Linked DNA regions of Homo sapiens: region 1 is linked to region 2. The links are contacts of gene promoters, found by promoter capture Hi-C in human tissues and cell types (Jung and others, 2019). All regions are on one chromosome and are shown on one strand. The core of a region is centred on a gene start or on the middle of the fragment in contact, and the rest is flanking DNA. Distances in the headings are between cores, read along the strand shown.

The links. The method cuts DNA at HindIII sites, captures the fragments that hold promoters and counts their contacts. A contact is called where the count stands out against the background at its distance.
Region 1: a contact is called between a fragment that was not itself captured here and the fragment with the promoter of DMAP1 in region 2, in 1 of the 25 tissues and cell types used here (bladder).

The regions. Positions count from the first base shown.
Region 1 is chr1:44,479,726-44,483,585 of GRCh38, reverse strand. All of the region lies in intron 2 of RNF220 (ring finger protein 220), which reads right to left. Among named protein-coding and RNA genes, the nearest start is that of MIR5584, 64 kb to the left of the region's middle. RefSeq lists an enhancer at 1-74. The HindIII fragment of the contact is 6,321 bases long and covers 1-3,860 here.
Region 2 is chr1:44,211,383-44,215,131 of GRCh38, reverse strand. It overlaps DMAP1 (DNA methyltransferase 1 associated protein 1), which reads right to left and starts at 1,661. Exons shown (of 10, transcript NM_019100.5): 1 at 1,274-1,661; 2 at 691-782; 3 at 234-429. The coding sequence starts at 1,378. RefSeq lists enhancers at 1-315, 316-817, 1,583-1,822, 1,561-1,855 and a silencer at 2,253-2,352. The HindIII fragment of the contact is 10,626 bases long and covers 1-3,749 here.

The sequences.
Region 1 (3,860 bases), core at 1,066-3,565, 270 kb before region 2:
AGAGCCTCATTTACCTCCATACCCCTTTAGCTAGCTCTGGGCCTGGAACCTGGTACTAGCTCAGTATCTGCTAAATGAATGAGCACAAAGCACTGTACATGTTAGTATGATGAGTATATTTTCTGATATGGGCATGGCACTTCTCCCTTTCCTGACTCCATTGTTGAGATGCTTTCTAAAATAGTGCTGTGAGCCTGGACATAGTTCTTCCACACATTTTCATTTGGTTTCCCTTCTGATCTAGAACAGTATTTAAAAGCTGGGCTTCTGACATTGAGCAAGGTAGAACAGGTCTAACCGGCTGCAAAGGGATGGAACTCATCCTTTTAAAAGGTGTGTATTAATACTATGCTTGGGCTGGGCATGGTAGTTCATGCCTGCAATCCTGGCGCTTTGGGAGGCTAAGTCGGGAGGATGGCTTGAACCCAGGAGTTTGAGACCAGCCTGGGCAACAAAGCAAGACCCTGTCTCTACAAAACATAGAAAAAGTAGCCAGGCGCGATGGTGTGCACCTGTAATTCTAGCTATTCCAGAGGCTAAGGCAGGAGGACTGCCTGAATCCCGGAGTTTGAGGCTGCAGTAAGCCACGATCGTTCCACTGCGCTCCAGCCTGGGCTACAGAGCAATATCCCATCTGGACAAAAAAAAAAAAAAAAAAAAAAAAAGGCTGGGTGTGGTGGCTCACTCTTACAATCCCAGCACTTTGGAAGGCCGAGGCAGGTAGATCACTTGAGGTCAGGAGTTTGAGACCATCCTGGCCAACATAGTGAAACCCTGTCTCTATTAAAATACAAAAATTAGCCAGGCATTGTGGCACATGCCTGTAATCCCAGCTACACAGGAGGCTGAGGCACGAGAATCACTGGAATCTGAGAGGCAGAGGTTGCAGTGAGCTGAGATTGTGCCACGGCACTCCAGACTGGGTGACAGAGCAAGACTCTGTCTAAAAAAAAAAAAATTTACTGAATTACCCTAGACTATGCCAAGGATAAATGTGAAGAATCCTATTTCAGATCCCCTAGAACTCAAATGCCTCATGACAACCAGAGCATAGCTCCTTTCTTCCTACAGAAAGATTTCTAGCTCCACTGAAGCTATTCATTGCTCACTGAGAGAAGGAACACAAAAATTCTTTGAAAAATATGCAGTATCTAAAAGGTGAACGGACTGGAGTTAGTATCAGTCTTCTCTCCCCACTTCCTTCAAATGTCTTCACCACAGCAACTGCCCTCCACCCCTCCTGCTCCCCTGAGAAGGGAGCCCCAGGGATCCAGACTAGACCAGGTCTGGTCTGCAGGCCGTGTATTCTTAGTTTTGTCTCATTTTTTGAACATTATTTCTCTATGGAAAAATGAATCTGTTTGGAATAGAAATCAAATATGGGTTCATGGTCAGATGGATGGGGTTTGAATCCCAGTTCTGCTACTTGTAAGTTGAGAAACTTTAGGAAAATTAACCTTTTAAGCTTCTGTTTTCTTGTCTGTAAAATGGGAATGAAATAAAACCAAAATCAAGGGGCCCAAGTACTGCATGCAGAACTTCTGGTGCAATGCCTGACACAGAGCAGGCACCCAGGAAAAGCGGGTGCTCATTGTTTTGGCTTCTTATCTCTGAATTAACTTCATCTGCTCCTTGTTCTCTCCTGTTACAACTGAGAGAATGACCCTCTTACGACTGAAGTCTAATCCCTCACAAGTGGTCTGGATTCCATCCCTTCTTGTCTTTTAAACTGCTTCATCATCTCTGTTTCTTGACTGTCAGTCTTTTTCTTTGCCTGGATCACTTCCACCAGCACACACACACATGCACTGCTATCTTCTCTCAAGAACAAAAAAGTTCTCTCTCTTGATTCCACATCCTCTCCACTTGCCATCATATTTTTCTGCTCTTCTTTTTTTCCCCCTTTATTTCTTCTAAAGAAAAACAAACCAAAGAAAAGGGATACATGTACAGAACGTGCAGGTTTGTTCCATAGGTGTATGTGTGCCATGGTGGTTTCTGCTCCTATTGACCCATCCTCTAAGTACCCCCCGCTCAACCTCCAGCTCCCAACAGGCCCTGTGTGCGTGTTGTTCCCTTCTCTGGGTCTATGTGTTCTCATTGTTCAACTCTCAGTTATGAGTAAGAACATGCGGTGTTTGGTTTTCTGTTCTTGTGTTAGTTTGCTGAGGATGATGGCCAACCCAGGATGGAGTGCAGCAGGGCGATCACAGCTCACTGCAGCCTCGAATTCCTGAGCTCAAGTGATTCCCCCTGCCTCAGCCTCCCAAGTAGCTGGGACTACAGGTGCACGTCATCAAACCCAGCTAATTTTTAAAATTCTTTTGCAGAGATGGAGTCTCACTATGTTTCCCAACCTGGTCTTGAACTCCCGGGCTCATGCAATCCTCCCACCTCAGCCTCTCAACGTGCTGGGATTACAGGCGTATGCCACCACGCTCAGTCTTCTGCTCTTCTTTATCCCCAGACACCTCCAAGGTGTTGTCTACATCTGCTGCATACATTTTCTCACCCCCTATTAGCTCTTCAATTCATGTCAACTTGAATTTGCCCTGTCATTCCACTAAACTGTTCTCAAAGTGACCTATTGCCCTCCATATTGCCAAATCCTGAAGACATGTACATCTCTGTCCTTGATCTCCCAGGAGCATTTGACGTAACTCATCATTTTCTATTTTATTTTATTTTACTTTATTTTTTGAGACGGAGTCTCACTCTGTTGCCCAGGCTGGAGTGCAGTGTTACAATCTCAGCTCACTGCAACCTCTGCCTCCCACGTTCCAGCAATTTTTCTGCTTTAGCCTCCCAAGTAGCTGGGACTGCAGGCGTGCCCCACCATGCCCAGCTAATTTTTGTATTTTTAATAGAGACAGGGTTTCACCATGTTGGCCAGGCTGGTCTTGAACTCCTGACCTCAAGTGATCCCAAAGTGTTGGGATTACAGGCGTGAGCCACTGCCCCCGGCCCATTTTCTCTTTTAAAACACTCCTTTTTCCTCCTTGGTTTTATGATCTCTATTGTCCATTCCTTCTCAGACTCCTTTCTTCTTTTCCTCTACCACATCTTTAAATGTTAGAGTTATCCAGGGCTTGGGTCTGTGCCCTTTTATTTTCTCTCTTTTACACCATTCATTTTCATTTCATCTTTTGCAATCACTTAATTAATTAATTAATTAATTTTTGAGACAGAGTCACTTTGTTGCCCAGGCTGGAGTGTAGTGGCACGATCAGGGCTCACCACAGCCTTTACGTCCCAGGCTCAAGCGTTCCTTCCACCTCAGCCCCCTGAGTAGCTGGGACTACAGGCATGCACCATCACACCTGGCTGATTTTTTTTGTATTATTAGTAGAAATGGCATATCACCATGTTGGCCAGGCTGGTCTCAAACTCCTGGACTCAAGTGATCCACTTGCCTTGGCCTCCCAAAGTGCTGGGAGTAGATGTGAGCCACTGTGCCCTGCCTTTGCAGTCATTTTAAATAGCAAGGTGCTGTTATAACTAGAACAACAAAACACAAAGATATGTGACATTGGCTTTGGGACTAGGCAAGTGGGCAGCAAGGAAGCTGGTATAAAAGCCGGGAATAATAGCAACTTGTATTATTTAGTGGTAAACTTGTGACTAAACTACAATAATTTGGAAGGCAGGAAACGTATCTTATAAACTAGCAAAGGTGAAGGAGGGGATCTTAAGGCAAAACATTGCAAGCATGAGCTGGCTGCTTTTAGCTGTATTTGATGAAGCACTAACAAGAAAGTGATAAACTCAGAAAACTGGCTAGTTTGCAAGCAGGATTCAGTGGGAATATAGAGAACCCAGAATTTGTGGGGTTGAAAAATAAAACTTTCTCATCTCCAATC
Region 2 (3,749 bases), core at 412-2,911:
AGACCAAGAAAAGCCATGAAAAACCAGAGCAGGTCCGGGAAAGAACAGGATCCCTTGGGCAGAAAAGACCCACAGAGTCCTACTCTGCATGCATTTGCCACGAGGATTGAGTGGGTAATCACAGTTGGGCATAAGCGTGCCCCCAGAACCAACCCTAGGAGACTGGAGAGCTCGCACAAATGGCTCAAAGTGGGAGGGCAATCTTGGCCTGTGTCCGAATGAAGGTAGCTTACCTTATTGAACCTGGCAAAGGGGTAGTCCTTGCCCTCCTCCGCTGCACGTCGCCAGTGGAAGAACATTGCTCCGTCCTTGCGGGCCGGGTTGGTGAATGGCATCCACTTCCAAGGCCGCACCTTCTTGGAGCCCAACTTGGCCTTCACTGTACGGTATCCCTGGCCAGTGTCACTGGGTAGCAGTGGGGGTGCATCCCTGGCAGGGAGGTTTAGGGAGATGCGAGGTTAGAATCAGAAGGTGTGTTAAAGAGCTTTTTGTCCCAGGGAGCTGATCTACCCTACCCTATAGCAAGAAAGTCATGTCCTGGAGCAAAAGACTTCAGGTCCTCCTGCATCCTGCTAAGCAAGCAGGAGCCCTTGCTGGGGAGGAGAAAATTGTTAGAGAAAACTAGGAGTTAGGGGCATGGCAGGTGAATCAGGGGCCAAAACCTGGGGGACTTGGGACTCCAATACTTGCTTCTTGTCAGAGTAGAGCAAGGCATAGACTTCCCGGTGCATGCCCTCGGGCCTCTTGAAAGTCAGTGTCTCAGAGGACTTCTTGGATTTTTTCTGAGGAAGGAAACCACAGAAAGGAACCACAACCTAGACCCTTTCCTGAAAATTCTTTAGTCCAGCTCAATCCCTGAACAAAGCAGCACCTACAGGGTCAATGACAGGCAAACTGACACACTGTAAAGGCACAGAAACCCACTCCCAGGAACACCATCCTACGCCCAAATCAGAGCAGTCCCCTCCCCATCCCACCAACTCTCAGACTGTTACAATGTCTTGATCTCTCCCCAACAATATCTTGCAAAAATCACACTTGCCTGGTCCTCTCAGCTCTTAGAGGTGTCATACCCTCTTGGTCCCACCATCTCCCACGATGTCCCATCTCCTCCCTCCCATCAAGGATGACACATATTCCCTGTCCTGTTATGTCACCCCTTTTATCGCCCAACTCACTGTAAGTGTAGCACCCATCCCTTGCCCGTTGTCACTCCTCCCCATCTTCACTCCCCTACCCTCCCCTAGTCAACGCTTTCAGGTGCCCCTGCTACCTTGTCCGGGTTGATAATGTCCTTCTTGCTGATGGTCCCAGAGGCTGCATCCCCTTCTGGACCCCCGAGTTCTAGAATGTCCCGTACATCCGCGCCCGTAGCCATCGCGCCTGAGAGATGGGGGAGCCACCGGAGGTCAAGGGTCAGTGCCTGAAGAAGGACCAGGCTCAGGTCAGGGGGCGGGGCCAATCCAGACCTAAGCGGAGGCGAGTTGAAGGGGCGGGCCAAGAGGAGAAGGGTGGTCCAGGTCAGGTCGGGGATCTGCCTGTGCCCCACCGCTTGGATGTTCCTAACGGCCCCTTCAGCCACCTGGGCCCTCGCACTTCCGCACCTGGGTCCGGCAGCTGCAGCCCCCACTACCACTCCCCCGTCCCCGCAAAGCCGCGGCAGAAACTTCCGGCGGTGCTCATTCGGAACGCGGCCGACAGAAACACTTCCGGTCGGTGTTGTAGGAAACGAAGCCGACTGGCAACCGAGGGTGAAAGCTACTGGCCGTGCTGAGCTTGCCACCCTTTGGTTCTCCCGCGAGCCTGTTTTCATTGGTGCACTGCCTGCTTTCTGGCATTTTCCCTCTACGATGCTCCGTTGCGTCTCAGGCAGTGAAGAGATACCAGAACTTTGTGACTTTGGGAAGTCACTTAATTTCTCTGGACCTTTTTCTTTATTTGCCGAATGGAAATTGTAATGGCACCTGTGTAAATGAAATACCAAGAATCCTTGTAAAACATTAGCACGGTGCGTGGGACATTTACTATTTTTTTATTAAATGAGTTAATGATTTGAATTGCCCCCTCTTCATTAAGTGCTAATATGTACTAGGCACTGTGCTAAGCTTGGAGGTGAAGAGATAAACTTCAAATTGTGATAAGCTTGAAGATGAAGAAATAAAGGCAGAGCTTCCTAGGGCGGCTGCCAAAATGGAGTAAGGTGTGGGCCCTCATTTGCACCTCCTCTGATGGAGATAGCTGTGGGTTGTGGCCTCGTGGGGATTTCCTGGAGGCCAGCTTCGTGGCACTTCACTAGTACAGGAGCTAGCTGCACTCTTTGGGCTACGAAGAAGCCCAAAACACAGCCCCAAGCAGGAACCAGCTTAGAAGTATCCCTCAAGGGAATAAACCTGGGGATCTTCCTGGAAAGAGAGAGACAGGAGGTCCTGAGGAAGGGCACAAGGGACAAGGAAAGCAGCTCCCAGCTTCAGCAGTCTGCAAACCAGCCTGTCAATTTGAAGGACACATAGCCTGTGGGATAGGGTGGGGCTTGTTAAGGCATTAAGAAGGCCAGACCCCAAGTCGAGACCTGCCAAAGATACCAGCAGGGACTAGAGGAGCAGACAGTTTGCGCAAGTTAGCTATAAGTGGTGTAGCCTGTTCTGGCCTGGAGAAGACAAGGGGATACAACAGCTGTAGCCACAAGCCTGACTAGTCCCCAAAACTTTGGAGAACTAGGCCTGGAGGTACAAACCTGTTCCTGGGTCTGATTCCTGGATGGATCCACTGAGCTCCAAACAGTTGCCGGAGGAAGTCACAGTCTTACAGCAGAAATTGTCCACAGGGTAAGGAAATGGTCCTTGGAGCCAGAAAGGGAGAGAGCAATTGGCTGCCTGAAACACTTGACCCTAGTTGTAGTTAATTAATTGTGTAATTACTTGTTTAATATATATCTCTAATAGACTCATTTCTGTGAAGACAGGGATCACAGTACATAAAGGAATGTATGTGCCAGGCACTATTCTAGACTCTGGGCATGCAGTGGGTGAACGAGATACAAATAGCTACTGGTGGAGCTTATATTTAGTGGAGAAGGAGAAACACTAAGGAAATAGACAATAAAATTGATAATGTAAGTTTTGATGGTAACAAGAGCTAGGAAGGAAATGAAATAGAGCGATGGGATGGAGAACTGCTTTCCATAATCTGGTCAGGGAAAGTTAGTGGTCTCTCTTTTTTTTATAAATGTGTATATACATAGAAAAAATTCTGGAAAGGACTAAACTGAAATGATTCCATCACTTGTTTTTATCTGGCAATTTATATTTTCTATACTTTCTATAATGAATGTGTACCTCTTCTATAATAAAAGGAAGGAATGAAGGGAAGAAGGAAAGGAAGAAGGAAAGACAGGCAGACTGTGCGCTGTGGAAGGTGGACCAGGCCAGAGTTTAGGAGACTAGAGGGCAGTTGTGACTATCTAGGTTAGAGGTGTTGGGAAACTGAACTAAGGTTGTAGCAGTGGCAATGGATTCCAGATATTTAGAGAAAGATGACCATGTTATCTGCAAATAATGACAAGTTTATCCCCTCCTTTCAATTTATACCCCTTATTTCTTTTTCTTTTAGCATTTTCCAGTACCTCCAGTAATTGGTTAAACAGCAGGTGTGGTCGTGGGCATCCTTGTCTTTTTCCAGATCTTAAGGGGGGCGCATTTAAATTTTTTCTATTAAACATAACATTTGCTCCAGGTTGTTTGTATATACTC